Regions from separate parts of the Homo sapiens genome. Here region 2 is linked to region 1. The links are contacts of gene promoters, found by promoter capture Hi-C in blood cells and fetal thymus (Javierre and others, 2016). All regions are on one chromosome and are shown on one strand. Each heading gives the region's core, a stretch centred on a gene start or on the middle of the fragment in contact. The rest is flanking DNA. Distances are from core to core; before and after follow the strand shown. Region 1 holds the start of RHPN1-AS1 (RHPN1 antisense RNA 1). Region 2 has its middle 27 kb from the start of EPPK1.

What was found. The method cuts DNA at HindIII sites, captures the fragments that hold promoters and counts their contacts. A CHiCAGO score of 5 or more calls a contact.
Region 2: a fragment that was not itself captured here is called in contact with the fragment with the promoter of RHPN1-AS1 in region 1 in 1 of 17 cell types (activated CD4 T cells); the score reaches 6.0 in activated CD4 T cells.

Annotation. Positions count from the first base shown.
Region 1 is chr8:143,366,667-143,371,358 of GRCh38, forward strand. It overlaps RHPN1-AS1 (RHPN1 antisense RNA 1), which reads right to left and starts at 1,969. Exons shown (of 1, transcript NR_026785.1): 1 at 1-1,969. RHPN1 (rhophilin Rho GTPase binding protein 1) reads left to right here and starts at 2,210. Exons shown (of 15, transcript NM_052924.3): 1 at 2,210-2,381. The coding sequence starts at 2,322. RefSeq lists enhancers at 1,168-1,723, 2,464-3,371, 3,372-4,278 and silencers at 1,887-1,956, 1,967-2,426, 2,627-2,676. The HindIII fragment of the contact is 29,655 bases long and covers 1-4,692 here.
Region 2 is chr8:143,902,996-143,907,687 of GRCh38, forward strand. No RefSeq gene overlaps it. Among named protein-coding and RNA genes, the nearest start is that of EPPK1, 27 kb to the left of the region's middle. RefSeq lists an enhancer at 1-413. The HindIII fragment of the contact is 4,462 bases long and covers 648-4,692 here.

The DNA of each region.
Region 1 (4,692 bases), core at 719-3,218:
GGAAACAGCACCCTGCAGGGAGGGGAAGTCTTATGACCCTCAAAGTTTGAGAGCCTCTCTTAACTTCCCAATGGCCTCTGTCTGCTGAACCAAGAAGCCTGCAAAACAAATACGTAAGAACTGGATACCATTTCAGTCACACATGCTTGCTGACAGTCACTGATATGGTAATGCCTCCTGTACACATAGCTGACTCTGAAGACTGCTAAGAGGGTTTGGGTCTCTGCTGTACAGGACCTTGGCAGCCTGCAAGGAGATGACTCACATGGAAGTCCCCACACAAGTGCACCCAGTGTGAACTTTGGAAGCATCGGCCCATGCTCAGGCCCACAGGTAAGATGGCCAGGAGCCCCTAACCTTGAGGAAACTTGAACCACAGAGCTGCTGGCGAAGGGGGTGGGTGAAGGTCTCATGTAGCCTGTGTGATTCAGGCAGAAGTGAGAAGGACGGGTGGGAACCCACCAAGTGGACGACAAGCTGAAGGGCTCCCAGGGAGCAGACACTTCAAGGGCCCCAAAAGGCCAGGAGAAAGAAAAAAAAAAGCCGGGTATGGTGGCTCATCCCTGTAATCCAGCACTTTTGGGAGGTTGAGGCAGATGAATTGCTTGAGCCCAGAAGTTTGAGACCAGCCTGGGCCTGGGCAATGTGGCGAAACCCTGTCTCTACAAAATATACAAAAATTAGCCGGGTGTGGTGGTGCAAGCCTGTAGTCCCAGCTATTCAGGAGGCTGAGGTGGGAGGATCACATGAGCCCAGGAGGTGGAGGCTGCAGTGAGCTGTGATCGTACCACTGCACTCCGGCCTGGGGAACAGAGTGAGGCCCTGTCTCAAAAGGCCAGGAGTGGAAGACAGGCCCTAGCCAGGAGGTTTCGCGTGGCTGGCAGGGGCCTTATGAGAAGGCTGTTGCTGGGAGGGGCCTGCTGCAGATGGCTGCGGCAGACCACGGAGCTTAGCCTTCAGGATTTAGATCTGGGGATGACAGGCTCCTGTGTGCTTGTTGCGGAGCCGGGAGCACAGGCACCAGAATGATCCCAGGGCTCAGCTCCAAGGCTCCGCTGGGCCTGTGGTGGGGCAGTGAACGTGGACAAGACCTGGGCTTCAGAGGAACTTGATGACCAGGAGCCGTGGTTACCGCCTGTGCCCTGGCCTTCCTGCTCTTCAAAGGGTGTGTTCTGAGCTGAGGCGAGACCCACACGAAATCCGAGCGGGCTCCGGAGTCACCAGACACCTAGGGAAGTATGGAAGGCCCGGAAGGACACACACAGCCGGGTGAGCCCCGCAGGGAGCTGTGCAGTCTCAGGTCGTCCAGTCCTGGGGCTGCAGGCCAGTTCTCCAAGCAGGTGGTCCTGGAGGCAAGCTGGTTTTGAAAGTAGGTTCTGAAAATAGGTCAGTCCAGGAAACAAGCTCTGGAAGTAAAGAGATTCGGAAAGCAGGTTCGTTCTGGAAACAAGTTCTACAAACAGGTAGTTCTGAAAGCACGTGGGTTCCAGAGGCAGGTGCTAGAAGGATGTGGGTTCTGTACGGAGGTTCTGGAGGGAGGCGGGTTCTGGACGGAGGTTCTGGAAGGAGGCGGGTTCTGGAGGCCGGTTTTGGAAGCAGGACGACACCGACAGAGGCGCCTCGGACTGGGGCCAGGCCTGGAGCCTCCGCTCCGCGGGCAGAGAGAAGAAAGCAGGCATTGTCGGAGGACTCACACAAGCACTTGTCCCTAACAAAACCGTTTTTAAAAACCCCATTGTGAACATTTTTGGAACAAGCCTCTTAGAGGGTCCCGTTGCCGGGGTGACAGGACGAAACGGCGCGAGCGGGCAGACTCCTGGAGTCCCCGCAAAGGGAGCCGAGGAGCTAGGCGCGCCGAGTCCAGGTCCGCCCTGACTCTCAGCTTGGGACGTTCCGTATAGTTTTTTTCTCCGTTTCCCGAACTTCTCCCGCACGCTCAGCGGCCGCCGCGGCGCATGCGCAGTACAACCTGCCAGCCAGCCGCGGGCGTTCCGGCCGCGGTTGCCAGGGGTTACCGTCCCGCGGGCGGGCGGAGCTGGCCGTCCAGAGCCCGCCTTCCTGGAACTCTGGTTGGCTGATATAGCTGTCCGTCGAAGCGGCATTGCCGCCTATTGGGCAATGGCCAGCTTCGCACGCCAGACCCGTGCCCCGCCCAGCCGCGCCGCGGGCCGCCCCCACTCAGGAGGGACAGTCGGGGACCGGCGCGGGCACTCAGGAGCCCGCGGCCCAGGTGGTGCGGGCGGCCCTAGCCCGGCTGCGGAGCGCTGCGCGAGCGGCGGGCTGGCTGACCCCGAGGGACCCCCAGCGCAGCGGGTGCGGCGATGATCCTGGAGGAGAGGCCGGACGGCGCGGGCGCCGGCGAGGAGAGCCCGCGGCTGCAGGTGCGCAGAACTGGCGCGGCGGCGGGAGGAGGGGCCCGGAATCCCGGCCTTTTCCTGCCCCCCCTCGAGGCGCGTTCCGGGCGCCCCCCTCCTACGTCTCATTCGGCCCGGACGCAGGCAGGGAAACTGAGGCCAGAGCCTGCGTCCCTCCTCCTCTGAGCTCGGTGGAGGTGCTTCCAGGCCACTCATGTGAGCCGGGAAATGCGGACAGCCAAAGTCTGGATCATCCTCACCGCTGAAGCGGGTTGGGGGGACGCCCTCCTCGTGTCCCCCTTCTGGGCGGATGTGGGGCTGGGCTCTGTGAGCGCCCTCCCCACACCCGCCATCGTGTTCCTTTCCGGCACCTGTACAGCCTCCTTCCCTAGTTCGGTCCTCCCTCTGCATCCGCTCAGGAACTGCATGCCCATTGGGTGCACTGGTAGCAGCGGGCAGCGAAGCCTCCTGGGTATGGGAAACCGAGAGAGGTCTTCCCGGCTGGCCTCTTCTCACTTCCCAAACCTCCTTCCCTTCTGAAGTCCCTAACCCGGGGTGCTGACTGGGCAAGTGGGAGGGGTGGGCAGGGCTGTGGAGACCTGCTGAGTCTGTGCCTGGGAAGGAGGGGACGTCTGTGGGCCTTGCTCTGCAGCCCAGAGCCTGCTTGTTCCCTGCGGACCAGCTCGAGGCTGCCCCAGTCCTCCTGCCAGGCCCTGGGCGCCCACGCCCGCCACGGGCTTTCAGCCGCGGGCTGCTCCTGCTCCTCGCCCCGGGTGAGCCTTTGATAGCGCGCGGCCCTCCTCCCCTCTGGGACGTCAGACTGTGTTGTCCCTGGGCTGGTTCTACTCGGCTTTGGTGTTTGGGGTTAGGTCTCCTAGAGGAGGAGGCGGTGCTATCAGCCAGGGTTTGGCTTCAGGTCACTGGGCTGGTGATGCTGACCGTAGCCCTCAAGGACGCCCTTCTTGCCCACCCCGAGGCGTGCCAGAGGCTGCAGCACCTCCTGGGCACTGGAGGGAAAGAGGCAGCCTGTGCCTGCCCCCTATGAACTTGCTCTGTCAGGGCGGCCATGCCTGCAGGTGGCCTGGGACGGCACATGTTGTTTTGGGTGGAATGTTTGGGAGGCTGTACAAACAAGATGTCCCAGAGGGCTCCGGAGGTGACGCTTTTCAGGCTGGGGGCTGTGCCTGGGCTCCCTGTCCTGGCCCTCCCTGGGCTGCCACCTTGGAAAGTTGGGGAGAAGCTGTTTCCAGGCTGCCGTGTCTCTCACAGCGTCCAGAAATGACCCCACAGTCAGGGTACTGGGGAGGGGCCCGTGGGAGGTGGCAGTGGGGCGGAGGCAGGCCCTGTGTCACACGCGCACCACTCAGGCTGTCCTGCCATCTGGAAAGTCTTCCCCGATGCCTGCTGCCGGGCTAGAGTGAGGCCTGTTCCACCCCCATCAGGCTGGCCCCCAAACTGGCCCTAAAGCTCAGAGTTCAGTGGGTCAGGGGTCGGTCGTTCATCCACTTAGAGGCCACACCTGGGCCTGAGGCCCTGTGGACAGGTCTGGGTGACTTGTATTTGCCCCAGGCGTGATGAGAGCAGGCTTCCAGCAAGCGCTTACCTGGTGCCAGGGCCAGTGCTACAGCTGGAGTCCTGCCATTGGTGCCTCCCAAGCCCTGGGCCTCAGCCCGTCTGATGAACAGGGTGAGTAAGTGGCCAAGGCTGCCAAGCTGGGAAGGGGAGAAGCCTGGCACGGCCCAGGGTGGCCAACCCAGCTGCCGTCCCTCCCGCAGGGGCTGCAGGGGCTCCCGGGGGAGGACCACAAGGAATACAGCCTGGCTGTATGCAGAAGGTTCTGTGGTTTCCTGGGGAGGCCAGTGGGAGAAGGGGGAGCAGGCTGCAGAGGGAGAGCGTTGGAGCAGCAGGTGGGCAGGGTGGCTGTGCCCCCCTCACCTGGTCTCCAGCATGCCGAGTGGGTCAGCCTGAGGTTCCCCAGCCTGGCTGGACAGGAGCACCCTCTGGGTGCTGGTTACAGGTTCCCAGGCCCCTGCCCAGGTAGATTGGGCTCCAGGAAGAGGGGTGCTCAGGAAGCACCAGTGCCTGGGTACCCCAGGGAGCATCAGAGAGAGTGGGAGTCCCTGCCGTGAGTGGCCAGTCTATGATTCCTCTGGCGTGCGTGCTGCTTATAGCCCTGTGTCCCAGGAGACACCTGTGCAGCAATGCCCTTTGAATTCTGTTCCCTCATCAGTGGGGGGCAGAGATGGTGGGTCAGGTGGGTGCTGGGCTTCCACCCTCCTGGGGCTTCCAGTTCTTGCATTCAGGTGAGACTTCAGTGGGGGCAGAGGAGAGGGGTACC
Region 2 (4,692 bases), core at 1,629-4,128, 540 kb after region 1:
AGGTGGTGCCTCATCTTCCTGGCAGACCTGGAGGGAGTGTGGGTAGAGTGGGACCCAGCCAGGAGTCCAGGCCCTGAAGCCAAGGGCAGGCCCATGTCTCCACCACCCCACAGTCTAGCATCCTCAGACCAGGCCCAAGAGAAGCCCCACTCCTGAGCAGGGGGAGGGAAGGGGAGGCCGGGGACTCAGGCAGCTGCCCCCTAGAGTGGGAAGGAAGGGCCCCAGCGTTTCCCAGCTCTAGCCCCACTTAGCTTTTGGTCCCTTTGCTGTGGTCCCCAGGGGTGTGGCTTCCTCGGGGGGCTGAAGCCAGCAGTCCCTCAGCAAACACGCACAGGGCTCCAGGGTGGGGGATAAGACTCTGCCCCCAAAAGGCTCTGAAATGTGTCAGGATGTGACATGGTGGAACTGACCAGGTTTCCAGCAGGTCTGCGGGGCTGAGGCTTGCATCCCCTGGGAGGCTGACATGCGCTGTCTGGCACGGAAGGTGGATATCCCCTCAGCTATGCCTTCTTTGTTCACTGGCTGGAATACTTCCGCGATGACAAACCTCCCTCTCATGCTGTTTGGTTACCCAGCGGCCCATCTGCATAGGAAAGACAGAATAAGAGCTTGATTCTTTTCTTTTATTTATCAATTTTAAAAATGTAAGCTTGTTGCCGGGATCTCCTAAGGACGATCAGTTAATTTTTTTTTTTAACTCAGGGATTTAAGCGGGTGAGTTGAGTAAGCTGAAGGTGTCCCATCTTCCGAACGCGTTTCTAGGACGGCAAAGCCTCCTGTTCCGAGACGGGTAGAGCAGGAAGCCACTTCCCACAGATCACAGCTGCCCCATCCCTTCAGGGCGTCCTGCCTTGCCTCGAACTCCTGGGCTCAAGTGGTCCATTCCCTTTCCTTAGAGTGTGGGATGAATGCCTCCAGGAGAGAGGTTCCTCCTCCGGGTCAGCAGCTGCAGCTACCTAAGCATTCTCTTCCTCACCCAGCAGGGCCCGCAGCCCAGGGTTATGGCGAGACTCCAGTTCAGGGTGGCGGCTGCCAGGGAGCTGTGGGTTGGTCGGCTGGAACCAGCTGAGGCCTCAGAACCAAGAAGCCCTTCCATGCCAGGCCCAGGGAGGAGGAGCCTGTTGACAGCGTTGTCCCTGGGACCTGGTGGGCAAACAGGCCGGGGGCGAGAGCTTGGGACCCAGAGACCCGGGTCCTGCCTGCATATGATCCAGTAGGGAGGGCAAGCTGGTCTGCCCCCGAGGCCCAGCCACCGTGCTGGGCTGTCCTGAGAGGCCCTGGAGGACAGGTGCGATGCTCGGTGGGCTGTCTCCACAATATACAAACATCAGTTGTATTTCATGCTAGCAGTAGGCAATCCAAACATGAGACTAAGCAAACAGCTCCACACACAATAGCACTGCAAATAATAAAATACTCAGGAATAAACGTAGCCAAAGAAAGTCAAGACTTGTATATTTAAGACTAGAAAACATTACTGAAGGAAATGAAGAGGACATGATTGAACGGAAAGTCATCTCAGCATCACTCCCCAAGCTGACCTGCAAATTCAGTGCAATCCCCATCACAATTCCACTGTCTCCTGCCTGGGGGCTGCCCCTCCCCATATCAGCCCTCTGCCCAGGACACAAGACTGCTGGGTGGCCTTGTGTGTGTGTTGGGGTGGGAGGGCTCCACTCCTGTCTGTGGCGTGCAGCCCTGCTCAATGCATTCCCAGCACTGAAGAACGGCCTCTCCCAGGGCCCAGCAGTTGGGGCAGCCTTCCTCCTGAGGTAGGAGGCAGGACTCAACTCCGGAGGTGGGGTTTGGACACTGGACCAAAGTGAGGATTAGCTAAAACAAGTGTCTTACAGGGAGGTGGAAGCACCTCCCTGTAAGACACGCCCACCAGTGTGCCATGTCATTTTACCATTCCGTGGTAACACCCAGAAGTTACTGCCCCTTTCCATGGCAACAACCAGACAAGCCAGAAGTTGCCACCCTCATCCTGGAAATTTCTGCATAAACCGCCCCTTAATTTGCATGTAAGTAAAAGTGGGCAGGCTGGATGCCCTGGTTCATCCCTGTATTCCCAGCACTTTGTGAGTCCGAGGTAGGAGGATCACCTCGGCCCAGGAGTTCAAGGCTGCGGTGAGCCCTGATGGCGCCACCAGACTCCAGCTTGGGTGACAGAGCAAGACCCTGTCTCAAAAAAAAAAAAATTTGGGGTATAAATTTGACTTCAGCCCTGCCTCAGCTGCGACTCTGGGTGCACTGCCTGTCGGGTGGTCCCTGTTCTCAAGGAGCAGCCCCTTTGCTGCAGGTCTGGTTGGCCACTTAGTAACAGTTGCTGTCTAGGCTGGGTGCAGGGGCTCACTCCTGGAATCCCAGCACTTTGGGAGGCCAATGTGGGCGGATTGCTTGAGCCCAGGAGTTCAAGACCCGCCTGGGCAACATGGCAAAACCCCGTCTTTACAACAAAAAAATACAAAAATTAGCTGGGTGTGGTGGCACACGTCTGTAGTCCCAGCTACTCGGGAGACTGAGACAGGAGGATTGCTTGAGCCCAGGAGGTCAAGGCTGCAATGAGCTATGATGGCACCACTGTGCTCCAGCCTGGGCGACAGAGAAAGATCCTGTCTCAAAAAATTAAAAGTTGCTGTCTAACACACCGGCTCGTCCTTGAATTCTTTCCCAGGCTCAGCCTCAATTTTGGGGCTCACCTGTCTGGCATCGCTGCTGCTTCTGGAATGTTCAGGAGCCCACATGTTTCCTGATTGGGGTCAGCCATTTTGATGATGAAATTTGTAATATTAAGTTGTTTCGTTGGGACTTTTCAGAACCAGGTGAATACACAGCAGATAAAACACCTTGGAGGCTGGGCGTGGTGGCTCGCACCTGTAATCCCAGCACTTTGGGAGGCTGAGGCGGGTGGATCACCTGAGGTTGGGAGTTCGAGACCAGCCTGACCAACATGGTGAAACCCTGTCTCTACTAAAAATACAAAATTAGCCGGGTGTGGTGGCTCATGCCTGTATTCCCAGCTACTGGGGAGGCTGAGGCAGGAGAATCGCTTGAACCCGGGAGGCGGAAGTGAAACTCTGTCTCAAAACACACACACACACACACACACACACACACACCTTGGAAATGGAGAAACCTGTTCTACCGTAACGGGAAGCAGCAGCCCTCTACCAGGATCTGCCTGAGGTAGCAAGTGCCGGCAGGTCCAGCGACCTGCAGGGCCACCCTCCTTCCCGCTGCCACCCCCCGCCCATGCCGCGGTGAATGGCTTCTTTGTTAGCATTCCTCAGCCACCCTGTTTCCTGTTGGGACTCCACGGACAGACACACTGCGTCTCCATTCTTTGAATAGTTGCTCTTACATTTTCAACATGGATATTTGACAAAGTCCAGAGTCCCAATCAAAATCTCTACCCTCTTCCTGAAAAATACAAAGGCAGTAAAAGTTTTTTTTTTTTTTGAGACTGAGTTTCAGTCTTATTGCCCAGGCTGGAGTGCAATGGCGTGATCTCAGCTCACTGCAACCTCTGCCTCCTGAGTTTAAGCGATTCTCCTGCCTCAGCCTCCCGAGTAGCTGGGACTACAGGCGTGCACCACCACGCCCAGCTAACTTTGTATTTTAGTACAGATGGGGTTTCGTCATGTTGGCCTGGTTGGTCTTGAACTCCTGACCTCAGGAGCCCCAAAGTGCTGGGATTACAGGCGTGAGCCACGGTGCCCAGCCTGCATCTGCTAAACTCTTTTCCAGGTGGTTGAAGCACTGGTATTTCCATCAGCTCAGTGTGAGAGCTCTGGTTGCTGTACCTCCCATCAACATTTGACATGTTTAGTCTTTTTAAATTTTCAGGCATTCTAGTGGGTGCATGATGGTGTCTCACTGTAATTTTAATTTCTATCTTCCTAATGACTAATGTTCTTGCATCTTTTTATGTGCTGTTCGCCATCCATATATCTTCACTGGTGAAAGGTCTGTTGAAATCTTTTGTCTATTTCTAAATTGGATTATTTCTGTTTATTGAGTGCTGGGGGTTCTTTGTATATTCTGGATACAAGTCCTTTATCAGTTATGTGATTTACAAGTATTATTCCCAGTCTGTGGCTTGTCTTTTTATTTTCTTAACAGTGTATTTTAAAGGGCATAAGTTCCTAATTTTGATGAAGTCCAATTTATCGATCTCTTTCTTCTATAGATCATAATTTTAGTGTTATATTTCAGAAATATAACTCAAAAATGACAAAGATTTTTCTCTTACATTTTCCTTTAGATGGTTTATCATTTTAGATTCCAGTTGTGATCCATTTTGGGATAATTTTTGCACATGGTGTGAGATTAATTTTTTGCATATAGATGGTGAAAAGATCATTATTTTTTCACTGAAGTTCTTCTGTACCTTTACTTAAAATCAAATGACAATAGATGCATGGGTCTATTTCTGGACTCGGTTGATCTATATTTCTGTGTTAATATCAATACCTCGCTGTCTTGATTACAATAGACTTGCAACAGCCCTTCAAGTCAGATGGTGGACGTCCCCTCAATTCACTTTTCTTTTTCAAGGTTGTTTCAGCTGCTCTTGGTCCTTTGCATTTCCATATTAATTTTAGAATCAGTTTGTCAATTTCCACACACAAAAAAACCTACTGGAATTCTGATTGGGTAGCACTGACCTGTAGTTCAAGTTGGAGAGCA